6 separate regions of the Homo sapiens genome follow, and all the other regions are linked to region 1. Evidence: promoter capture Hi-C in human tissues and cell types (Jung and others, 2019). All regions are on one chromosome and are shown on one strand. Each heading gives the region's core, a stretch centred on a gene start or on the middle of the fragment in contact. The rest is flanking DNA. Distances are from core to core; before and after follow the strand shown. Region 1 holds the start of TMEM242 (transmembrane protein 242). Region 2 overlaps SYNJ2 (synaptojanin 2). Region 3 overlaps SYNJ2 (synaptojanin 2). Region 4 overlaps SYNJ2 (synaptojanin 2). Region 5 has its middle 25 kb from the start of SYNJ2. Region 6 overlaps SNX9 (sorting nexin 9).

Region 1 (4,102 bases), core at 747-3,246:
CCTGTCTCTGCCACTTAACAGCTGTGTGAGCTTGAGCAAGTTAGTCTTTCTGAGTTTATGGAGAGGAATAAATGAGATAATGTACTTGAAGCACTTAGTGCAATGTCAGATATATAGAAAGCACTCAATACATGTTAGCAGCTATGGTTACTGTTATGTATGAGGGGAAGGAAAAAGGATAGGTCCTTCAACAAATTAGCACAGCATTTACCAGCTTAAAAGCCCTTTCAGATACTGACGTGTTTCCAGGAAATCCAAAGGTCACATACATTCTGTGTGATCTCATCCACACAAAAATTTGAACAGAGCAGTAGTTTTTTATCATCAGAAACCCCACGGAGCTTTTACATTCTGCCCTGCCACCCGCGGGCCTTCAGAGCTCTAATCTCCCGTGGTAGATAGACCTTGATAATCCATCATTTTTAAAAATCCCCATAGGCAATGCTGCAAAATAGCTACTGGAATCAAAGGTGGTAATAGTTAGAGCTAACATGTATTGAATATTTATATGTGCCAGGCACTGTGCTAACTTCTTTATAGATGTTGCTTCATTTAATTCTCACAGTAATCCTATGAGTTAGGTACTATCAGTTTTTGTGTGTGGGGGGGGCGGGATGGGGTGGATGGCAGAGTTTCACTCTTGTCATCCAGGCTGGAGTGCAACGGCTCGATCTCGGCTCACTGCAACCTCTCCCTCCCAGGTTCAAGCCATTCTCCTGCCTCAGCCTCCCGAGTAGCTGGGATTACAGTCCCGCATCATTAGACTCCGCTAATTTTTGTATTTTTAGTAGAAACGGGGTTTCACCATGTTGGCCAGGCTGATCTCGAACTTCTGATCTCCACCTGCCTCAGCCTCCCAAAGTGCTGGGATTACAGGCGTGAACCACCGCGCCTGGCCTACTACCAGTTTTTAAATTTTACAGGTGAGGAAACTGAGCTATAGAGGGGCTAAGTTACCCCAAGTTCACACACCTGAGAAGCGGTTTAGGACCCGAGCCCAGGTTTGAGCTATTAACTGCACTTCACTGACGCAAAAATGGATGCATTCATTTACTCATTCATCCAACATGCATTTGATGTTGGTAACCAGTTAATATCTGAAAGCTGGGGGATATAAACTGAACATAGAGTCCCATCTCCATCCTCAGGAAACTCATGCCCTCCGGTGATGGGGGGCAGGACAAATAGCAGAGAGACCGCCTTATTTTACAAGATGTCATTGTTCTCTGAGAGGCTGAAAAGATTTTCTATCACCACTAGCCTCCTCCTCTCCACGGCCATTTACAGAATGGGCAAACCAGCCTCCCAGCGGAAGACCAAGCTTGCTAGCGGTCAACGTTGCCGGCAGCTCTGCAAGCGCTTCCAGCGGGCGTCGCTCTCCTTTCGGGGGTGGTACTTTCATTCGGTCATCCTGTGAGTGTTCCACTTCCCGACGGAGGCCGAGCACTCACACCGCGGCGGAGGTACCCGTCACCGCAGAACCGGGTGGCTGGCTCTCCTCCAGGGAGAAAGCCTGTCACTTATTCCTCAACACTGTTGGGAAGTTACCTAGAAAAGTACAGACAGAAGACCTAGGCTTGCGTTTTAGAATCGTGGAGTGTTAGCGCTGGCCAAATCGTTGGACACAATGTAAGCTTGATCAGGAAAATGAGCTCCAGGGTCTCACAGGCGGGGCCTGGAATCTTGGCGCAATCTGCGACCCTCACTGCCTCCTACAGTCGGGGCTGAGCGTTCTTTCAAACAGCCAAAGTAATCACTTAAGTCCAGCAATGATCTCCTTGGAGAAATCAAAAGATCCTCCCTAAGAGACGGCCTTGGAGGGCATCGCCCCTGGGGCTGGGCACAGCACGTCTTCCCGGCCCCGGCGCGGGAGGAGGGTTTGGGGACAGCGGCCGCACTCCGGACCCTTCTTCAGATTGCACAGGAGGAGGCGGTAGCGGAACCTTTCTCCTCCGCCTGGTTCTCGCTTCCACCCGGGCCCAGTTGGGGACGGACGCACTAGAGGCGACCTAAACATGGAGACAGCGGGCGCTGCAACTGGGCAGCCGGCCTCTGGGCTGGAGGCTCCGGGGTCCACGAATGACCGGCTTTTCCTGGTTAAAGGTAAGATGTGCTGTGGTGAGGTGCGGGCGTCGGGGTGAGTTAACCCCGGACCCTGGCTTGCTCTGGAGCGGGCATTCCCACACACATCCCGCTCTGAGAGCCCTTAGCTTGTGCTTGCCCCTGAGTTTAGCCCGCGGAGTCTGGCGGCCCAGGGAGGGTAGGTCGCTTACTGGGTGGAGTCTCCCCTTGGGCGGGGCGGGGGGCAGATCCCGCGAGCTATTCTCCCGGGCGTGCCATATTTCCCCGTCACCTCTGCAATTGTTCTAGAGCCTTGCCTTTTCTGATTGCCATCGTCTCTTCTCCTCCCCGTGAGAAACTTCACGCTGTGGTCCCAGGGGAGAGGGGAAGGGAAGCTGAACCTTTTCTCTGCGCTCGGGAATAATAATTCGGAATGACCCAAGGAACCAGAGGTCGTGCGGTCACGCGTGTTTCTCAGCCGCTGTCATTTACTGTTAGCAAGAGCTGCTTAGCCATGGTTTCTTGAATTTCAAAAGTGATTTTGATTGTAACTCGAATAGTATCTTAAACTTACTTTTGTACATCTTTTTAACCTCTTTTTATTTAATTTTTTTTAATATCCCCCCTCCTCCCCGAAACTCTTGGCAGGTGGAATTTTCCTTGGTACCGTTGCTGCAGCGGGAATGCTAGCTGGATTTATTACAACATTATCATTGGCTAAAAAGAAAAGCCCTGAATGGTTCAATAAGGTTGGTGACACTGAAATCCATTCATAGCATTGTTATTGTTTACAATATATGGCAGCTTTTGCGTAGAAAAAATAAAATATTGATGGTCTTTCACATTGCTTTAAGATGTGAATTTATATACGCTCATGGATTCTAGAAATGTACAAATTAACCAAGTCTTTATTTTCATTTAGAAGGATGTACTTATGTGCTTTCTTAAATTTTAGCGGAACAAGACTTTGAAAGCTTATCTGGTACATTTCCTATTCACAACATGACTTTGAATCTAAATTTGGGCCAGGCATCGTGGTTCATGCCTGTAATCCCAGCACTTTGGGAAGCCGAGAGGGGCAGATCACCTGAGGTCAGGAGTTTGAGACCAGCCTGGCCAACATGGCGAAAACCCATCTCTACTAAAAATACAAAAATGAGCCAGGTGTGGTGTGGCACTCCTGTAGTCCTAGCTACTCGGGAGGCTGAGGCAGGAGAATCACTTGAACCCAGGAGGCTGAGGTTGTAGTGAGCCCAGATAACACCACTGCACTTCAACCTGGGTGACAGAGCGAGACTCTGTCTCAAAAATAAATAAATAAATATTCACACAAATAACTGTGTAATTACAATTTGATGTGTGCTATGGAGGAAAAGTGTTACGTAAAACATCATAAAAAGTCAAGTTTCCTTTCCACTTACATTTATCTTTAATAATCATACTTAAGCCTTATCGATACCATAATGGCAAGAGACCATGTTTAAAGTGTGCTTGGATCCCCTCTGAATGCTCTAAGCTTATATGGAGCTTCCTAAATCACTGCTATGGACCTTGTGGGTCATTTTCTCTCTATGTTATAGAATGTTTTCAGAGCAGAAATATATTTTGTGGTGGAAATCAGAGTAGTGCCTTAACAGTAGAGTTTTGGTTGATTTCTAAGCCTAAGTTATGTTAATCCTTGGCTCACTGATCTTTTTAATAATCTGATGAAAACTAGGGATTCTCTGGGGCTGAAGAGCGCACGTACACATATCACAACTTTCCATCCTATTTTGTTATTCTGAGATTTGATCATCACAGATGCTCTTCGGGGTCTAACAGTGGTTTTCAAACTGCAGTCCACAGAACCCTGCTGATCCTTGATCCTTGGGTCCATGAAGTCAGAACTATTTTCATAATGATACTAAGATGCTTGTACTAATGGTACAGAGGCAATGGAGAGTAAAACTGCTGATACCTTGGTCTAAGGCAGTAGCACCAAACTGTGAAAGTCCTTGTGTCCTTCATTACAAAGTACCTGTATTTTTTAAAGCCAGTATTA
Region 2 (4,102 bases), core at 467-2,966, 760 kb before region 1:
AAAAAAAAGTTGAACTGGGCTGGGTGCGGTGGCTCACACCTGTAATCCCAGCACTCTGAGAGGCCGAAGCAGGTAGATCCCTTGAGGTCAGGAGTTTGAGACCAGCCTGACCAACACGGTGAAACCCGATCTGTACTAAAAATACAAAAATTAGCTGGGCGTGGTGGTGAGTGCCTGTAGTCCCAGCTACTCGGGAGGCTGAGGCAGGAGAATCGCTTGAACCCGGGAGGCGGAAGCTGCGGTGAGCCGAGATTGCACCACTGCACTCTAGCCTGGGTGACAGAGCAAGACTCCATCTCAAAAAAAAAAAGTTGAACTCTCATCTCCAGCTTCCCATTTGGTACAGATTTAAAGCCAAGATACTATAAAAACGGAAACTATCTATGAGCTGCATATTCCAAAATACATACTCTAAAGAGAAAGACTGGAATAGTCTCCCACATGGCAGTGCGAGCATAGACAGATCAAGTAACTCGGCGAGAACTACACTCTAAAATGGCTAAGCTTCTGCAGCTGCTGGTAGAGCTGCCTTCCAACGTGAGACACAGTGACTGACATTCTTCTTCCCCATTCTGTTTGTTTGGTTTTTTGAGACAGGGTCTCGCTGTCACCCAGGCTGGAGTGCAGTGGCACGATCTCAGCTCACTGTAACCTCTGCCTCCCAGGTTCAAGCGATTCTCCTGCCTCAGCCTCCTGAGTAGCTGGGACTAGAGGCACGCGCCACCATGTCTGGCTACTTTTTTTTTTTTTTTTTTTTTTTTTGGAGACAGAGTCTCACACTGTTGCCTGGGCTGGAGTGCAATGGTGCGATCTCGGCTCACTGCAACCTCTGCCTCCTGGGTTCAAGTGATTCTCCTGCCTCAGCCTCCCAAGTAGCTGGGATTACAGGCACCTGCCACTATGCCTGGCTAATTTTTGTATTTTTAGTGGAGACGGGGTTTCACTATGTTGGCCAGGCTGGTCTCGAAATCCTGACCTCATGATTTGCCCGCCTCAGCCTCCCAAAGTGCTGAGATTACAGGCGTAAGCCACCACACCCAGCGCCTGGCTAATTTTTGTATTTTTACTAGAGACAGGATTTCGCCATGTTGGCCAGGCTGGTCTCGATCTCCTGACCTTGGGTGATCTACCCACCTTGGCCTGACAAAGTGCTGGGATTACAAGCATAAGCCACTGCGCCCACCCTTCCGCCCTATTTTGCAAGTAGCTAGAGCCGGACATGAGACACCTTAGAACCAGAGTGAAGAATCCAAACTCCCTCCCGCATATGGCGTCTATACATAAAGACAGATTGGTGGCCAGGCATGAAAGCTCATGCCTGTAATCTCAACACATTGGGAGATCGAGGCGGGAGGATGACTGGAGCCCAGGAGGCTGAGGTTATAGTGAGCCATAACTGTCCCAATGCACTCCAGCCGGGGCTACAGAGTGAGATCCTCTCTCTACAAAATTTAAAAAAAATTAGCTGGGTGTGGTGGCACGTGCCTGCGGTCCCAGCTACTTGAGAGGCTGAGATGGGAGGATTGCTTAAGCCTGGCAGTTCAAGGCTGCAGCGAGCTGTGATTGCATCACTGTACTCCAGCCTGAATGACAGAGCAAGACTTTGTCTCAGAGAAAAAAAAAAAAAAAAAAAAAAAAAAAAAAGGCACAGGTCAGGGCAAGAGGAGGAAGAAGACATGCCCACATAAAAAGAGGGATTGATCAGACCCCACTCCACAGTGTGGCCAAGTACAGCGTACCTTCATACCGTCCACGTCCAGGACACTGAGAGCCGAGTGACTGTCTGCAAAAGTTACCAGCATCTGCCCTTGGTTGATCCTGGAATAAATGATACTCCAAGTCAATGCCAAGAACGACCTGGCAGCTCTCACGGATCCTCATCGACATCCCCTGGAACCCACATCAGCCAGGGGAGCAGTTACCTGACAAGAACAATTGTCCCATAACTCCCCAAGGTCTGCATGAGCTCAGTACGCAGGTCCTCTGGAAACTCGTTTTTCTCTTCTAAGGTCGGTGATTGAAGGTTTACTACAACAGTGGCATCCAGGGGGCCCTGGAAGGAGGACACTTCCTGGAAAACCCTCTCCCGAGCACCCACATCGACTTCCTGAACTTCCACCTCCACGATCGCCAGCACAGGTCTGCGTTAGGAACAAAAGAGGGATGACAGTTAGCCTGGGACAGATGTCCACACCCCCGGCCTCCAGTCCCCAGTTAGCCTGGGACAGATGTCCACATCTCCAGCCCCCAGTCCCCAGCTGCTGTCCCCCAGGGCTCTTTGTAAACAGTCAACACCAACAACCTGCGAATGTGGCCACCAGCAGGTGGATTTGCAGGCTAGCTGCCCTGCTCTGGCGTTTTAGTCTTCATCTTTCCTTAACCTTAGTATCACCTTGGCATTTTTATCTAAAGATGATTTGAGGGGGAAAATAAAGTGTGGCACCTTAAAGATGTATCCCAGTACTTGGAAAATAACCAGCCATCAGCAAAGATTTTTGACATGGTAATCCTCAGTACCACCAAGGAGGTGGGGAAGCAGACATCTGCACTCTGCCAGGGGTGCAAGCTTTTCAGAGGGTTACTTGGCACTTTACATAGAGTTCCAAAATTGTTCATCTCTTTTCACCTAGTAATCTCACTTCTCGGACTTTATTCTAAGGAAATGACCAGGGATTCAGACAAAGATTTAATGCATGAGGTTGATCATTTACAGCATTGTTGATGGGAGGGAAAAAAAAAAAGGGAAATGCTCGTTTTTTTTTTTTTTTTTATTTTGAGTCAGAGTCTCCCTCTGTTGTCCAGGCTGGAGTGCAGTGGCGCGATCTCAGCCCACTGCAACCTCCGCCTCCCGGGCTCAAGTGATTCTCCTGCCTCAGCTTCCCAAGTAGCTGGGATTACAGGCGCATGCCACCATGACCAGCTAATTTTTGTATTTTTGGTAGAGATGGGGTTTTGCTGTGTTGGCTAGGCTGGTCTTGAACTCCTGACTTTAGGTGATCCGCCTGCCTCAGCCTCCCAAAGTGCTGGGATAAAGGCGTGAGCCACTGCGCCAGGCCAAAATGCTCTGTTTCTTAATGGGGAAACAGTTATGATACCTTCATATAATACCCTACGCAATCATTAGGAATAATGTAAAAATCAATGATGTAAACAGGAAAACAGTCCAGCAGGAAATAATGCAATCCTTATAGTAATTCTGACACAGGGATGGTTATTACTCTATAAATTTCCAGAAAATCCTATATTACGAAAATTACACAGCCTGATTGAAAATAGCTCGACTCTGGCCTGACTCCTGCCACTACTTTTTTTCTTTCATAGCACACATGTTTGTTTATTGTCTGTTTGTCCTGTCCAGAAAATTCCATGATAACATGGTCTCATCTGTTTTGTTCACTGCTTTTCTCCAGGCCAGCAACAGGGCCTGGCATGTAAGGGCCCCTCAAGAAATATTGGTTAAATTAAGGTTTCAAAATACATTGAGCTAGCAAACCTTGATGTCACATATCTGAAGATTCCTCAAGATTCACTTCTAGGTATGTATTTGCAACAACAGGTATCTAAAGAATTTAGAATTATCTAAAGAGTCTGGGCATGGTGGCTGTAATCCCAGTACTTTGGGAGGCTGAGGCGGGCACATCACTGGAGGCCAGGAGTTGGAGACCAGCCTGGCTAACATGGCAAAACCGTTTCTACTAAAAATACAAAAATCAGCCGGGCATGGTGATGCACGCCTGTAATCCCAGCTACTTGGGAGGCTGAGACATGAAAATCACTTATACCCTGGGGGTGGAGGTTGCAATGAGCCAAGATTGTGCCACTGCACTCCAGCCTGGAGGACTCTGTCTCAAAAAAAAAAAAAAAAGGTTTTTTCGTTGACCAACTGTTCTTACCTTCTTTTTCTTAATTTCTTTCCTTGTAAAAGTTGAAACTGACATGAGAGTTTAGGCAGCAGCCTTGGGAAGATCAAACTCTTCCTTCTTCACACCCTCAAATGCCATCCTCTCCTCTGTCTTTAAAGACATTCTGCAGGGTGAGTCTTCCTCTGCAGCAATCCCAGGGCACAGGTGCTGGTGCCCACGGTGCTCCCTCTGCTGCCTCC
Region 3 (4,102 bases), core at 868-3,367, 700 kb before region 1:
AGATCTTAAACATACAGAAATCCAGCCGCCTCTGCCTGGGCTCCGGGACTAGTCTTAGTGCATTGCTACAAGTCCCTTTGGGCAGGGTGACTCAGCTTCCCCATTGATGGGACTGGTTTAGCACTGTGATTACCAGCTTGGGACCTGGACCCAGAAAGCCTGGGTTCAAATCCTGGCTCTGCCACTTAGTAAGTGTGTGGAGTTTGGCAAAATTCCCTCGACTATTCGTGCCTCAGTCTCTCTACCTGTAAAATGGGGTAACAGAGCCTCCGCATAATTATTATAAAGGTTTTTATAATAATGATGAGTTATTACCAGCAGAGAGATCTTAGCACGGTGACCCGAACACAGTGCTTTATAAACATCAGCGGTAAACGGCTGCACACTGGAGGTAACCATGATTGAGAAGACTGAAAGAGTGAATCCAGGCAGAAGCACTGAGCTCGGCACCCGGGACTGAGGAAGCACTCAGCAGACGTCGGCTCTTATGTTTTTTACTTATGGAACAGGGTTTCTTTTCTTTCTTTCTTTTTCTTTGAGACAGAGTCTTGCTCTGTCACCCAGGGTGGAGTGTAGTAGCACCATCTTGGCTCACAGCAACCTCCGTTTCCTGGGTTTAAGCGATTCTCCTGCCTCAGCCTCCCGAGTAGCTGGGATTACAGGCACCTGCCACCACGCCCAGCTAATTTTTTTTTTTTTTTTTTTTTGTATTTTTAGTAGAGATGGGCTTTCACCATGTTGGCCAGGCTTGTCTCAAACTCCTTAACTCAAGTGATCCACCTGCCTCAGCCTCCCAAAGTGCTGGGATTACAGGCATGAGGCACCATGCCTGGCGCAGGTTTCTTTTCCAAATCTACACTGAACACATTCCAGGGGCCAGGGGTGGGGGGTGGCAGGGAGTTCAGGGTTAGTTTTCCTCTCATTGTGCTGAGAGCAGGCCTGGGTCCTAACTCTCCAGAGGTGCCCCATAACCCGGGGGTGGTGCAAGTGGAGGTCAAGGCCTCAGATGCCAACCAGGGCCCACCCTCTGCAGGAGACCCAGGGCCCACCCTCTGCAGGGGACCCAGGGCCTCACCAGAAGAAGGAGTTCCCCCATTCAGAGCTGTCATCCCCCTGCTTCTGCGTGCGGACAGTCAGGTCAAAGCGAGACCCATCGTTTGGCCATGAGAAATAGAACACCCCCGAGCTGAGGATTTTCTTCAAAGCTATGAGGCGTTCCTCCTCCTTGGCCTCTTCCTGAAGAGGGTAAAAGTCAGTGGCAGTGATTTTGTAGATTTCAGCATCTGGAATTCTGCCCACAGATGTGCAGCCTGTCACCAACACCAGGAAGCTCAGAGACGTGCCACCTGGAAAGGAAATCAGACAGGAGAGCTCAGGGTCGAAGTCGGCCCGGCCGCCTGGAGCTCCAAGGGGACAAATGGAGCCCAGGTTCAACCGCAGCCAGGAAGGCAACGTCTGTGCACCTGCAACTTCCCATGGCATTGCCCAACTCAATGGCTCAAGAACCTGCCCTGTCCTGTAAGCTTCAGGCGGGGCTTCTCAAAGTGTGGGACCCTGGCCAGCAAGTCAGCATCCCCTGGGAGCCTGTTAGACATGCAGATTCCTGCCGCCCAGCTGCCTGAGGCTGGGGGCAAGCTTTGCTTTAACAAGCCCTCCAGGTGATTCTGATGCCCCCAGGAGTCTGAAAATTCCTGGCCTAGAGCCCTTCCAGACCCCCAGGACCTACCCCCAAAGCCTCTCCAAATCACCTTCCCCAGTGCCTCCTCAGCCACTGCCTTGACTCAGGACCCCTGGCCTGGGGTCTGTCTTCCCCCACTCCATCACAGGAGTGGCCTTCCCAAAGTCATTGGATCACAGCCGCTCCGCCCTTCCTTCTTGCACAGCTCCCACTCCCTGCAGGACTACGACAGAAGCTCCCAAATCCCTCCCCGCTGCAGCCCATCCCTGCCCCACACGTGGGCAGACACCCCAGCCGGCTGCTCTCCTGAGCTGGCTGTCCTCCAGCTGGTCCAATGTGCCATAAGCATGACCTCGCACCCTGGGCTCTTGCCCAAGATGCTCCCCCTGCCTGGGACGTCCCACCGCCATCTGCCCAACAAGACCTCCATGACCCCTTCTCCACGCACCTCCCGCCTGTCTCTACCCTAACAATACTTCAGGCTTCGGGCCCAGCATTCCATCCTCTGGAAGAACACGAGCGTCCCCACATGCTCCGTAGGGACCATCCTGCCTCTGCCCTCCCCACTTCACCAGAAGAACTCCTCCTCATCCTTCTGGGCCAACTTGGCAGCAACTCCTCCGGGAAGCCTTCCTTGCTCTCCCAAGACACGGACAGGCACCCCTCGTACGTGCCAATAGCATTCCCATCAGCAGTTGTCACACACACAAAGCTCATGACCTCCCTCCCCACCTGTGCCCCCAGGGGAGGGGCTTCCTTGGGGGCAGGGCCATTTCGTCGTCATCTCCCAGCACCACACACACTCGGTTTGCTGAATGCTTCCTAAATAAATTCCTGCCAAATGCTACCAAGACGACCTCGGACCCTGCAGCCAGGCGAATGAGGCAGCCCTCTCTGGGGCACCACCTCGCTGTCGCTGACAGCTGGTTTTCTGTTCCCTATCCCCCGCTGCTCACAAGGGCACTTCACAACACGCTGCGTATCGGGGGTGCCTGGTGGCGCCGTGCCTCACTCTCGGGACGGGGCCCAAGAGATCATCGGGTAGAAACCGGCCTTTGGGGTCTGGCAGGGCTCTAGTCCCAAGGACACTCTTCCCACCCCGCTGAGGTCTGAAGGATCCGCCCAGCGAGATCTTCTGTGAATGATCAAGGGCCGCTGTCTACAGCCATGGTCTGGAGATGGTTCTGATCTCTCCACACTCCAGGAAGAGACCCCCAAAACAACCAGTTCCACCACCCTCTCACCCCAATTTCCTCACCACACTTCATAGGGAGAAGAGCGCTGCTTGTGGCAGGGTGGCGTGTGGCTGTCATTAAAGTGCGTTCCTTTAATGAGCGCTCAGGGCTCCCAGGGGCCTGCTGCTATGCCATGGGGTGGGGCTGCCAGCAGGGCAGGGGGTTGATCCCATCACATCTCCCCAGACACATCCTCAGGAAACCACCTCAAAACCACCTAAGAACAAAGGAAGTTATCACACTGGGGACAGGGACAGGGGTCAGAGTTCAGCTTCTCAAGTAGGATAGGTGGGGTTCCGGGGTTGGCAGCTTGTGATCAGAGCCTTGGCCACAGAGCGCTCCCGGCACCCACCTGCCTCTTCTGACACAGTGCAGGGAAAAGCACAGTTCAGCAGAAGTGCCCTCGGAGAGGCAGGAGGATGGCCCCTGTGGCTGCCAGAGCTATGGAAAATTTTGCATGACATCACTCCGTGAGAGTCATGAGCTGATTTCTAGCACCACTTCCTCAACAGCCTCCGTGTGGGGGGCCTGAGTGCCTGGCAACAGTCCCAGGTGCATTTCCTGGGCAGGACCACGGCCTGGGGGAGGCTGGGGAGAGGAGCACTGTAGCAGCCAGGAGAGGCTCTTAACATTGCCACAGAGCACTGGGGCTCCTGGGTCCAGGGAGGAGGGGGTCGGGAGTGGTACAGGGGAGTGAGGAGAGCCGGTATCTGGTGAGCGCAGTGGAGGCAGGGGAGCTGTACAGGCGCGGACTCCATCCTCCCGCCCACCGCAAGGGGCGCCCTTACCAGCCCCATCTCACAGGGAGGGAAACAGACGCACAGAGAGGTTAAGCAGCCTGCCCAAGGTGACAGAGCGGGGAGCTGGGATCCAAATCCACTTTCTAGCTACAGTGCCTGGGCAAGTTTCTCAAGCCAAGTCTGGCCCCAGAGCTGGTGCTCCTAATTACACCTCCTTGCAGATGACGTCGCCAGCCTGCTTACCCATGCTGCTGTCTCAGGGCTACCACTGCCATTTCACACACGCATGACTGTCCCCCAGGGAAGCTGAATCACCCGCCCAAGCACACAGCTAGTCTGTGTTGGAGCCAAAATGTAGGTTTCACTTTAAGCCCATGCTCCATCTAGCCCCAAAGTCCGGCAGTTTCCAATCGGATTAGTTTGCTGTACCCTGTATGTATGTATGTATG
Region 4 (4,102 bases), core at 818-3,317, 670 kb before region 1:
TGTTTTGGCCATTTGTATTTTTCCTTTGGAGAATTGCTCATTATATCCTTTGCCAATTTCTCTGTTGAACTATTTGTCCTTCCTTCTTCATGATCTATAGGAGTTCTTTTATATGCTATGATCATCCATCTTTGGCCTTTTTCTATGTTACAAAAGGCTGCACAAACTTTCCTTCTGGGCTGTTGCTTGTCTTTTCACTACGTTTATGGTGTCTTTTGATATATTGGAGTTTTCCATTTTTATGTAGTCAAATCTATCATTCGGACACAGGGGGAATGGGAGGCAGGGGCCTGGGATGCAAACGTTCTCTCTCCAGATCTGCGTGCTGGCTATGTGGGTGTGTTCACCGGGTGAAGATTCATGGAGCTCAACGCTTCGAGTGTTCATTTTTCTCTATGTATGTTACACTTCAATAAAAATATTTCCCATATCTGTCAGGTTTATTTCCTTTATGACTTCTGAGTTTGATGCTTTCCTTAGAACATCTTTCCATGCCGTAACACTGTGAAAGCATAGCCTATATTTTCTAATACTTTGAAAGTTGTTTTTTTACACTTAAATACCTCTGCATTTATTTTAATGTATGATAAAACATAGGACTCTCACTTAGTGTCCATATGGATAGTTTTGGTCACAGGCTTAGCAAAATCTTTCTTCCCTTCTGTATGAGAATTTAATGTTTAATTATCTAGCTCTGGTTCCCTGGGAACCCCAATCAAGATGGAACGTCAACTCTGTTACTAGACAACATTGCTCATGGTAAAAATGACCTTGATTGGCAAATTGCCTCTGGACAGGGAAGACCCATAAGTGAATTATAACCACTCGGTGAAGAAGCCAGGCATGGGGCTTCCTTAGGTGTGGTAACTCTTGTAACATGGAATGTCCCCTGTGTGAACCCAGGGCTCTGTAAGGCTGGTAATTTTATAAGGGATTCTGGCTCCTTGGGGACCCAGGGCTTTCAGCTGGGGGAGGAGCTAGTGACCAGAAGGACACCTGTGTGTGCAGCCACCTGCAAAAACTGCCAGGAAGACCCCTCGCTCCCCTGGAAGCAGAGCAGCAGGCAGCATCCTGCTGGCCAGCCAAGGTTTCCAGCCTATTCCTCTCTGAGCAGACCGGCCAAGAATGCCTGCGTGAATATCCAGTTGAATAGAGCAGGGGCCTCTTAGGCACTGCACTGATCAACCACACCAACAGCAGGTGCTGAGTATCCACCCTTACCTTTCTCTGACCGACTGAAGTCATCACCTTTATAAGAAACAAAGTAACACTGCTCACACAAGTCTGTTCTGAGCCTTCCACTCTACTGTGTTGATTTGTGCTGACAGCCTCCACGATGGTTAGGGCTTTATAATATGTTGTGCTACCTGGTAAATCAGTCTGCCTTTGTGGATCCTTTTCAAAATCTTGGCTATTTTTTTTGCCAATGCTTCGTCATTCAACAGTGTTTGCCAAGCCTCATTTCCACACGAGGCAGTGTTAAGGTAAGGTACTGAACGAGATACACAATGCCCCTGTATTAGTTGCCTGGGTTGCTGTAACAAAGAACCACAGAACGGGGGGCTTGAAACAACAGCAAATTTATTGTCTCACAGTTCTGGAGGCCAGAAATCCAAGATCAAGGCGTGGGTAGGAGCATCTTCCCTTGCTTTTCCCAGCTTCCGGTAGCCCAGGCATTCCTTGTCTTGCGGCAGTGTCACTCCCATCTCTGCCTCCATTGTCATATGGCTGTCTTCCCTGTATGCCTTCACATGACATTCTCCCCTCTGCGTGCGTCTGCCTGTGTCCCTTTTCTTCTTATAAGCACGCCAGTCACATTGGATTAAAGGCCCACCCTATACCAGTACGATCCCATCTTAACTTACATCTTCATTGCATCTGCAAAGACCCTATTTCCAAATAAGATTGCAAGGTATCCCGGGTTAGGACAGCAATGTATTTTTCTGGGGCACACAATTCAACCCACAATGCATTTTTGCAGTGGACAACAGAAGACACCCACGTAAGCACACACATAAGGTAATTTCAGTGATAAGCGCCAAGAAGAAAGGAAACCAGGCATGGGGCAGAGACAGTTGGTGTGTGGGGGCTGCAGGGTATTCCAGCCACAGAGGTCAGGAAGGTCTTACTGCAGTCACGAAGCTGGGTGGGGGGGGGTGGGGTAGGTGGGGAGACGGAGGCAGCAGCAGCCAGGCCAACCCTTGGTGTACTAGTCTGTTCTCGCACTGCTATAAAGAAATGCCTGAGACTGGGTAATTTATAAAGAAAAGAGATTTAATTGGCTCATGGATCTGTAGGCTATACGGGAAGCATGGCAGCATCTGCTTCTTGGGAGGCCTCGGGGAGCTTTTACTCATGGTGGAAGGCAAAGTGGGAATAGGCAACTTACATGGCAGGAGCAGGACCAAGAGGGTGGGGTGGGTGCCACACACTTTTAAACAATCAGATCTTGTGGCAACTCACTGTTTCAATGATAACCCCAGGGGGGATGGTGCTGACCATTCATGAGAAACCACCACCATGGCCCAATCACCTCCCACTGGGCCCCATCTCCAGCACTGGGGATCACATTTCAACATGACTTCGGGTGGGGACATAGATCCAAACCATATCACCTGGGGGAGGGAGTGCATGCAGGTGGGTGTGAAGATTCTGAGCAGGAACAAGTCAGGCTGCTGAATGCAGTGAGCCCAGGAAATGGTGGGAGATGAGGGTGGAGAAAGAGGCAGGGGCAGAGGATCAGGGCTGTGTGAGCTTCAAGCAGATCCCTATACGGGGAGCAGGGGAAGAGCCAGGAGACTAGTTCAAAGGCTGCCAAGCAGACCAGGAAAGCACATGGGGCAGTGGCTGCACTCTCGATGTAGCAGCGATGACCGGGGGACTCGGTGGGATTCACCATCTGTTTTGGGGTGGGATTCACTACTGGCTGGTAGGTTGGATGAGGCTGAGGAAGGAAGGGGCGTCAGAATGACTCACAGGCTTTTATTACCAGCAGTTGCCTGGATGGTGCTGCCATTAACCAAAATGGGAGAATGAAGGTAAGAATAAGTTTGGATGTAGGGGGAGTCCAGCGATACTGTAAAATCAGCCTGTTACATTTTAGACCAGGCTCTTGTTGGAATTTAATTGGATTTACTCATCGATACTTGCACTTCCAGATTAACTGGAGAGGAACTGCCATCTCTATAGTGTTGATGTTCCCACTCCAAGAACATAGTATGCCTTTCCACAGATGTGGGCTTCAGTCAAGTTCTATAGCTTTCTTCTTTTAGGCCTTATACACTTTGTTTATTCCCAGAAACTGTGGGGGAGTGGCATCTGCTTTTCCCATTACAGACTCTAATTGATTAATGATGGCATTATGGGAAGGCTATTGATTTTTATCTGTCGATGTTGAAAAGCGGCCAATTTATAACTCCCTGTCTAGTGAACCACCAAGCAGCTTGTCACCCGGCTCACGGAGGTGTCAACATTTTCCCACTCTTATTTCACCAACTCCCCGTCCCCGCTGTGTGTGTGTGTGCATGCATGTGTCCGTCTGTCTCCTGGCGCATGCCAAACAGATCCCAGACATGGGATCACTTCACTCGCAGATGCTCATTTCAGGCACAGATGGGCATTTCCCGCACAGATGCTTCAGGATCTAGCTCTCGGCTTTCCTGAGTGTATGATCCTATCCTCCGCACTCAAAATACCTTAGGAGTGTTCAGAAGAGAAGGCAGGCACAAGACAGAGAGCTGCCCTAGGAGGGCCCAGCAGAGTGGATGTGATGGAACTGGAGTTTCAAGGTGCTCCTTTGAAGCTCACACACTGTTTGTTTTTTTTAATAGGAGCACCCCTCAAGTCTTTGTTCCAGGTGTATATTCTCTTTTAAGCCAAAATTCTGAGACGCTCTCAGCAACTTAATTTTCCTGACAGTAAACTGAGCCTGAAATCTAAAAGGAGAAGATGTTGCCCAAGACAGACACACTCAAAGGCCCTAGAAGTCTGGGGCTATTCATACGCAGTCATATTTCATCATATTTTCTCATTGCCTGTATATAGTCTGAACATAACTTGCTTTATGTTTTAAGGGTGAGCTCCAAATACCACTTCTGCAGTT
Region 5 (4,102 bases), core at 469-2,968, 630 kb before region 1:
AACAGAAAAGACCCAGAAATAAAATACATGATGGTATTAACAGACAAAGACTTTAAAACAATTATTACAAATATATTCCATATATTCATGAAGGTAGGGAAAAATAGAAACATAAATGAGGAGAGAAATTAATAATATAAGAAAGATCCAAATGGAATTTACTAGAGATAAAAATATAATATCTGGAATAAAAAATACATGACATGGGATTAACAGCAGAGAGATGCTGCAGAAGAAGACATCAGTGAGCTTGAAGACATAGCAATAGCAACTGTCCAAAAATGAAGCCCATTGAGAAAACAAATTAACAGAGAATCCAGTGATCTGTGGACAAGATCAAGTGGTTTAACATGTATATCTCTGCAGTTTCAGAAATAAAGGAGGGAGAAAGGAAGAATATTTGAAGAAATAGGGCCAACATTTTTTCACATTTAATGAAAACTTTATAGCCATAGATCCAAGAACCTTAACCAAACCAAAGCAGAAGGTGCATGGAGAAAACTATATTAAGGCACATGATAATCAAATTGCCGGAAACTAGTGACAAAGAGAAAATCTTTAAAGCAGGTCAGGGAAGGCCAGGCACAGTGGCTCACGCCTGTAATCCCAGCACTTTGGGAGGCCAAAGTGGGCGTATCATGAGGTCTGGAGATTGAGACCATCTTGGCTAACGTGGTGAAACCCTGTCTCTACTGAAAATACAAAAAATTAGCCGGGTGTGGTGGTGGGCACCTGTAATCCCAGCTACTTGGGAGGCTGAGGCAGGAGAATGGCGTGAACCCAGGAGGCAGAGCTTGCAGTGAGTGGAGATTGCACTGCTGCACTCCAGCCTGGGTGACAGAGCGAGACTCCGTCTCAAAAAAAAAAAAAAAAAGCAGGTCAGGGAAAAAAAAACCCATTGCTTACAAACGAGCAAGGTAAGAGTGATGGCAGATTTGTCATCAGAAACTATGCAAGCCAGGAGACAATAGAGTGACATCCTTAAAGTACTGAAAGGAGGCCAGGTGTGGAGGCTCACGCCTGTAATCCCAGCAATTTGGGAGGCCGAGACGGGAGGATCAGGAGTTTGAGACCAGCCTGGGCAACATAGCAAGACCTCTTGTCTGCTAAAAATAATTTTAAAAAAGATTAGCCAGGTGTGGTGGCATGGGCCTGTGGTCCTAGCTACTTGGGAGGCTGAGGTGAGAGAATTACTTGAGCCCGGGAGCTTGAGGCTGCAGTGAGCCATGATCACACCACTGCACTGCAGCTTGGGTGCCAGAGCCAGACCCTGTCTCAAAAAAAGTACTGAAAAGAAAAAGAAAGCAATCAATCCAGAATTCTATCCTGCATAAAATTTCTTTCAAAATCAGCTTTTCAGACAAACAGAAACTGAGAGAATTAATTAACTAGGGAACCTACATTCCAAGAAATGTTACAGGACACTCCTCAGGTAGAAGGAAAATGGCACTAGAGGGAAATTTGGATGTACACAAGGATTCGAAATGATAAACACATCAGTAAATGTAAAAGACTTTTTTATAATTGAAAATACTCTTTAAAAGATAATTAACTGTGGCCAGGCGCAGTGGCTCATACCTGTAATCCCAGCACTTTGGGAGGCCGAGGCGGGCGGATCACAAGGTCAGGAGATGGAGACAAGATGGAGACCATCCTGGCTAACACGGTGAAACCCCGTCTCTAATAAAAAATACAAAACATTAGCCAGGTGTAGTGGCGAGCACCTGTAGTCCCAGCTACTCGGGAGGCTGAGGCAGGAGAATGGCATGAACCCGGGAGGTGGAGCTTGCAGTGAGCCGAGATTGCGCCACTGCACTCCAGCCTGGGCAACAAAGCAAGACTCCATCTCAAAAAAAAAAAAAAATTAACTGTTTAAAGCAAAAATATTAACAGTGTATTTTTGAGTTTATAGTATATGTAGAATAAAATATATGACAACAATAAGGTACAAGAGGGGAAAATGGAAGTAACATATTGTAAGGTTCATAAGCTGTGTATGAGGTGGCACTATTATTTAAAAATAGACGATGATAAGTTAAATACATATAGCAAAGAGGGAAAAGGGAGGTTTTATTGGAGGTAAAATAAAATCATAAAAAGTACTCAATTCAAAAGAGGGAAAAAAAGGAATGAAGAACAGATTGAACAAATAAGAGACCAATGGCAAGATAATGGATTTAAACCCAGCCATGTTGATAATCACATTAAATATAAACCGTCTAACAATAATTGGGTGCTTTACGACTCCAGTTCAGGAACAAACAAATATAAATAAATTGTATGTAGGAAGGAAACAGTGAAGACTTTACCCTCTATAATGGAAATGACTATAACAGTGAAATGCTTCCACCCAGAGGCACAAGAGCCCCTCAAAGCTTTAAGCCCTGGCTGCTGCTTGGTCTCTTCAGCTCTTTTTTATTAATTTTTTTTATTTTTTAGAGACAGGGTCTCACTCTGCTACCCAGCCTGGAGTGCAGTGGTGTAATCATAGCTCACTGCAGCCTTGAACCCCTAAGCTTGAGCCATTCCCCCTGCCTCAGCCTCCCAAGTAGCTGGGACTACAGGCATGCGCCACCATGCCTGGCGAAGTTTTAAATGTTTTCGTAGAGTCAGAATCTTGCTATGTTGCCCAGGCTGGTTTCAAGCTCCTGGCCTCAAGTGATCCTCCTGCTTCGGCTTCCCAAAGCACTGGGATTACAGGCATCAGCCACCTTGCTTGGCCTCTTCAGGCCCTTGATTCAAGAAAGCAGAAGGCAAGGAGGGGAGTCACCATCCTGTTGGAAAACTGACCAGTTGTCAGGAGGCTGTCATTCGTAGGGCTGCTTTTCCAAGACAGGGGCAGGGAAGAATACGCTTGGCACCAGGTAATCTATCGAGGGTCCCTGGGTGCTCACGTACTCCATTTGCATGGCACATAGATAAGTGCACGCATGTTTCAGAGGGGGCACGAGGAGGCACCCGTGTCAGGAGGTTCAGTTGAATCACTAAATTAGAGTGGTACAGGCCGGGTGTGGTGGCTCATGCCTGTAGTCTTAGCACTTTGGGAGGCCAAGGTGAGCAGATCACCTGAGGTCAGAAGTTTGAGACCAGCCTGGCCAACATGATGACACCCTGTCTCTACTAAGAACACAAAAATTAGCCAGGCATGGTGGCGGGCCCCTGTAATCCTAGCTGCTTGGGAGGCTGAGGCAGGAGAATTGCTTGAACCCGGGAGGCGGAGGTTGCAGTGAGTCAAGATCACACCATTACGTTCCAGCCTGGATGACAGAGGGAGACTCAGCCTCAGAAAAAAAAAAAAAATTAGAGCAGTACAAAGGCACTGTTGTACAACTGCACTACTATCCTCCACATGCATGTGTGGCAGGGCAGGAACTCTGCAATGTAAAAGTACATTTTTTCCCTTTGTAATTCACAAGTAATCTGTGGGCTCATACGATGGCACCTTGAAATGAACTTTTGCCTAATTGTTTAAGCATCAATTAATGACTCCTGCAGAAATAACGATTCCACTGGTGGTTGTAAATGGTCTTTTAAAAATTCTTTTTCATTTTCGAGACAGAGTCTTGCTCTGTTCCCCAGACTGGAGTGCAGTGGCGCAATCTTGGTTCACTGCAACCTCCGCCTCCTGGGTTCAACCAATTCCCCCTGCCTCAGCCTCCCAAGTAGCTGGGATTGCAGGTGCCCACCACCGCATCTGGCTAATTTTTGTATTTTTAGTAGAGGTGGGGTTTTGCCATGTTGGCCAGGCTGGTCTTGAACTCCTGACCTCAGGTGATCTGCCCGCTTTGGCCTCCCAGAGTGCTGGGAATACAGGCGTGAGCCATCACGCCTGGCCGTCTTTAAAAAATTCTACCGTTTCTATACATCTATGAGCAGAAAATTGGTAGATGAGGAAATTCCCTTCTTTGACCAAGATAAATTGATGGTCCTCCTAAAAAGGGAGAGAAATGCTCAGTTCTTTTCCTTTACTTACTGTATCTAGGTATCTACTCTTCTTCAGAGTGCAGGGGCGAGAACAGCTGTGCCAGAAAGCCCCTCCCGGCGGTGGGGCCCTCTCTGCATCACTTAGAGAATGGCAGGAGCTTGGGCCCAGGCAGGGACT
Region 6 (4,102 bases), core at 628-3,127, 620 kb before region 1:
ATACCATACCTGGACTTGAAAATCAATAAATCAACACTATCAAAATTTTGAGAGTTGCCCTTGCATTATTTTCTCACACAGACAAATGTAATCTGTTATATTCTAATATACAATGAAAGGCAAATCCACAATGGCACCAACTGACGGGAAAAGTGTGCATTTAAAGAGCATAGGGCCCACGTCCTGTAAGGGAGGACAGGGCTTAGGTGAGTTCCTCCCGTAAGTTAGTCTCCCAAACCAACTGTCCAAGACACAATTCACAAATATGCATTAGGTACATCAAGCACAGTTCTCCTTTAAGAACTGGCTGCTGGAGACAGGCGTTTTCAGCAGTGTCCAGCTCGCAGATGCCACCAGTATGGCTGAGCAGAGGGCTTGCTCACCACTCCCCATGAACATGGCTTAGATCCCATGGCCAGAGGGGAGCTGGGTAGGCAGCAAGGCCGCCAGCGGAGGCTGGATTCTACATTACAGACCTTACCTGCAGGTGTCTGAGGGAGACATGCTACTAGATTTTTGTTTTCTATAGACTCTGGTAAACAACAAAATTACTAAGCAGAGGTAAGAAAAATTTAAGTTTTCGTTATTGTTTTGTGAATAAAACCATCCCACATCTCGCTTTTTTGGTTTTCTCTCTGCGATTTCCATGGCGCACTGTGAAAACCTCATTCACAAAAAGCAAAGGCTGCCTTTGGTTTCCTGTGTGGTGCCAGGCTCCTGTTCCAGCTGCCAACGGAGTCCCAGGGACGGCTGGGTGACCTCATCTCATTCAGCACCGTTCCTGGTGCACAGAGGCACAGAGAGGCTGTGACGGGGGGAAGGAGCTGCACAATAAGGAACTTCTTGGGGCCTTGCAACTAGCATCCAAGACCCCTGCTTCAGAAGAAAATCTTTTTTAACCCAGTGTTATCCAAAAAGCAAAGGGCAGATGGAATTAGGAGATTAAAAAAATCCTGTCCAAAATTTAGGCTCCTTTGGTTTATTACTTAGGATTAAAGAATACAAACAGATTAACTTTACATGGTCAAAGTGGTTTACCAGGAACCCTCTCCTCAAGCACATGCGAAAGGCACGTGGACGCCCACTCACCGTTTCGTAAAATTGCACTTGCTGCTCCAGGTACAGGCGGATGACACTGTTGTAATCATAGATCCGGTTACTGTGAAAGTGATTCATCTCAGCTACAACCCAAATCAGAACATCAATCAGTTTTCCCTCAAGTTTTCAAATGACAACACCTGGTTTCTCTGCTCAGTTACAATTAATCATCAACCTGACCTAATCTGGTTGGCTGCTGTTGTCAGTTCTTGGTAAATCACTTTACTAAGAGGTTAGAAAAACAAGTTGAGCTGGGCGCAGTGGCTCACACCTGTAATCCCAGCACTCTGGGAGGTGAGGTGGGTGGATCACCTGAGGTCAGGAGTTCAAGACCAGCCTGGCCAGCATGGCAAAACCCCATCTCTACTAAGAATACAAAAATTAGCCGGGCATGGCAACAGGTGCCTGTAATCCCAGCTACTTGGGAGGCCGAGGCAGGAGAATTGCTTGAACTCAGGAGATGGAGGTTGCAGTGAGCCGGGATTGCACCACTGTACTCCAGCCTGGGTGACAGAGCGAGACTGTCTCAAACAAAACAAACAAAACAAAACAAGCTAATGACAAACATTACTTTCCAGTAAATGAATGACTTTCACTGTCTTGCATATTCAAAACTATAAAATCCAATACAGATAAATCACCCAAATGCAGCCTATTACTCTAACAGAATCGATCAAATAGAAAATACTTGGTCATATTTGTTACAGATGACTGCAGTTCAAAGCCTCTGGTGTGTCTGCACTGGACCTAGCAGGCAGCTGGGGTCCCTGCCCCGCTCCCTCCTGCACAGCAATTGCTTCAGCAGGTTTCTGGTGAAAGGCTGGGCAGCGTGTGGGACAGCGGGAGACCCTTCTTCAGTACGGGAAGCCTTGCTGCCCCTGAGCACCAGCGACGCTGTCAGAACTCAACCTCTCACAGGGCAGGAGGACTGGATGCTGAGGGACAACTTTCTTCATGTTTGCTGAATACATGGATTCCTTCTTTCTCTGTCCCCCCTGCCCCTGCCCCCAACTCTAGAGGAGTCTTCGTCATCAGAGGACCTCATTGCCTCCCTCGGATGCCTCCTATGCCGCCTTCTCCCAAACCCTCCAGGCTGAGAAAGCCAGCGGCTGCACAGATTCCCATGACATGCAAACTGTTCTACATTTTACATTCAGTTACTTGAAGTTATACAAAGCTTTGTATTTCTCAATTTGGATAACCTCAAACACAAGTTCAAAACCAAACTCCCCATTTCAAACCCTTCAAAACCCGAAACTTCAATCAGGGTTCCTCGTTTTTGCCGTAGTGGCCTGGCTCTGGACACCTCCCTCATCCTTCTCTTTCTCCCATGAATGCCCCAGTCTTGAAAGCTGTTCCTTGGAAAAGCCTGCAAATGTGCTTCATTCTCTTCTCCCCAGTACCACATCTTTAGGCCCTCAAAGCTCAGACTACAACAGTGAGATGGTCTTCTGGCTGGGCTCTTGGACAGTGTCTGCATCTTCCAATCTCCCCTCCATAACCAGCAAATCCTTCTCCCTTGAGGATTGATTTTTTTTTACTCCCTTTTAATGGCTTCTTAATGCCTGCATCAAGTCTAGAGCTTTCAAGTTCCTTCACAATCAAAATTTATTTCCCAATAACCTCTAAGTATGTTTTACTCTTTCATGCCCATGACACAATCTAGCACCACAATTTTGTGGCTTTTGTTCCTAACAGAACACGCTCTCCATTCTCTGCCCATCCAAGTGCCATCCACCCATCCGCCAACAGGAAAAATCCACTTGCTGCCCTCATCTGCTCAAAAACACTCAAACCTATAGAAATTCATCTTTTTTTTTTCTTGACACAAAAAAATTGTGCCTAAAATGACACACCCAAACCCCTTCACATTCCATGATCCCAAGGCACGCAGGTTACAGACTGCTAAAAGCTGGGCTCTGGCATTTAATAGAGCATTATGATACCACAGATTACAAAAGGAATCTTAAATGTCTCTCAGAAATAATAAAATGTACAGTTTTAATCAAGCTGTCATCTATAGCCAGATAAGGTGGACAGGTGAAAAATTAAATAAATATTACAGATTTTCATCAGCACCGGGATCCTGCAAACGAGGGGCTTAAAAGGTCTCACTTACTTAACTGCTGCTCACATCTGGATTTCTCTCTATCAAGGGAAACTTTGCTGGGGAAAAAAAAACTTCCACCAGCACCTCATAAGGACCCTTTCATCTTACCTTGCAACGCGTAAGACATGATGCTGACTCTCTTCACCATGTTCTGTTTGTCTTGTAGGGTGATTTTACTTGTTGCAACTAGTTTGTCACTTTCTTTCACTTTTTCTATTGCTCCCTGTGAAATATAAAATGCAACAGTATGAATAAAGCTGAAATGATTAGTCATTAGTTTAAAATATAACAATGCTAATATATTCTATAACTGATTTGCTACTGAACAGGAAATACCTCCACAAAATAAGAAGAGAGGAAAGCATCTAAATTTAACTTCCTTCAAGTCCCTTGGAAGCAAAAAGGTTGCTATTCTTGACAAATGTCACTAAGCTAAAATGAACAGTTTTATGCTACAACAAAAGAGAAAAGCAAACAGCACACCATCTCTGTAATATTCAGAAGCCGCTGCCATTTGAGGAGTAGCACGTAATGGAAATCAGGCATTAGCAGGTTTTGGAAGTCATGTGGCTAGGTACAGGGCAGCATGTGCACACAGGCACTCTCTCTCTTTTTTTATACAACAGAATATTTTATAAGCTAGTGCCTAAGTGTGCTGATTCTAAGTCCTGGGCTTTCCTTTGATTTTTTAAGAGGCGCTGAATCCATTTAAAGACTCAGATGGAAGCGGCTAGAAAAGCTGCCAAACATTTCCCACTCCAGTGTCATCACGCTGCTCGTTATTTACCGCTGTCTGGAAGGAACAACTCTATACTCATGCATTAATTAGGCTCCAGGCCTACAACTCTGATGCTGCTGGCATACATTTCGACAGCAAGCTAATTTTTCTGAGTT

What was found. The method cuts DNA at HindIII sites, captures the fragments that hold promoters and counts their contacts. A contact is called where the count stands out against the background at its distance.
Region 2: a fragment that was not itself captured here is called in contact with the fragment with the promoter of TMEM242 in region 1 in 1 of the 25 tissues and cell types used here (dorsolateral prefrontal cortex).
Region 3: a contact is called between a fragment that was not itself captured here and the fragment with the promoter of TMEM242 in region 1, in 1 of the 25 tissues and cell types used here (dorsolateral prefrontal cortex).
Region 4: a contact is called between a fragment that was not itself captured here and the fragment with the promoter of TMEM242 in region 1, in 1 of the 25 tissues and cell types used here (dorsolateral prefrontal cortex).
Region 5: a fragment that was not itself captured here is called in contact with the fragment with the promoter of TMEM242 in region 1 in 1 of the 25 tissues and cell types used here (dorsolateral prefrontal cortex).
Region 6: a contact is called between a fragment that was not itself captured here and the fragment with the promoter of TMEM242 in region 1, in 1 of the 25 tissues and cell types used here (dorsolateral prefrontal cortex).

What each region holds. Positions count from the first base shown.
Region 1 is chr6:157,321,413-157,325,514 of GRCh38, reverse strand. TMEM242 (transmembrane protein 242) reads left to right here and starts at 1,996. Exons shown (of 4, transcript NM_018452.6): 1 at 1,996-2,103; 2 at 2,710-2,810. The coding sequence starts at 2,016. TMEM242-DT (TMEM242 divergent transcript) reads right to left here and starts at 1,881. Exons shown (of 1, transcript NR_187268.1): 1 at 1,038-1,881. RefSeq lists enhancers at 1,284-1,713, 1,894-2,233. The HindIII fragment of the contact is 1,828 bases long and covers 1,479-3,306 here.
Region 2 is chr6:158,079,148-158,083,249 of GRCh38, reverse strand. SYNJ2 (synaptojanin 2) reads right to left here. Exons shown (of 27, transcript NM_003898.4): 19 at 1,923-2,141; 20 at 1,740-1,818. Among named protein-coding and RNA genes, the nearest start is that of SYNJ2-IT1, 80 kb to the right of the region's middle. The HindIII fragment of the contact is 5,446 bases long and covers 1-4,102 here.
Region 3 is chr6:158,026,000-158,030,101 of GRCh38, reverse strand. It overlaps SYNJ2 (synaptojanin 2), which reads right to left. Exons shown (of 27, transcript NM_003898.4): 3 at 1,076-1,346. Among named protein-coding and RNA genes, the nearest start is that of SYNJ2-IT1, 27 kb to the right of the region's middle. RefSeq lists enhancers at 3,071-3,140, 2,658-3,345, 3,346-4,033. The HindIII fragment of the contact is 3,760 bases long and covers 238-3,997 here.
Region 4 is chr6:157,995,083-157,999,184 of GRCh38, reverse strand. All of the region lies in intron 1 of SYNJ2 (synaptojanin 2), which reads right to left. Among named protein-coding and RNA genes, the nearest start is that of SYNJ2-IT1, 4.0 kb to the left of the region's middle. The HindIII fragment of the contact is 8,824 bases long and covers 1-4,102 here.
Region 5 is chr6:157,955,088-157,959,189 of GRCh38, reverse strand. No RefSeq gene overlaps it. Among named protein-coding and RNA genes, the nearest start is that of SYNJ2, 25 kb to the left of the region's middle. The HindIII fragment of the contact is 3,731 bases long and covers 1-3,583 here.
Region 6 is chr6:157,937,962-157,942,063 of GRCh38, reverse strand. SNX9 (sorting nexin 9) reads right to left here. Exons shown (of 18, transcript NM_016224.5): 16 at 3,317-3,431; 17 at 1,090-1,181. Among named protein-coding and RNA genes, the nearest start is that of SYNJ2, 42 kb to the left of the region's middle. The HindIII fragment of the contact is 9,940 bases long and covers 1-4,102 here.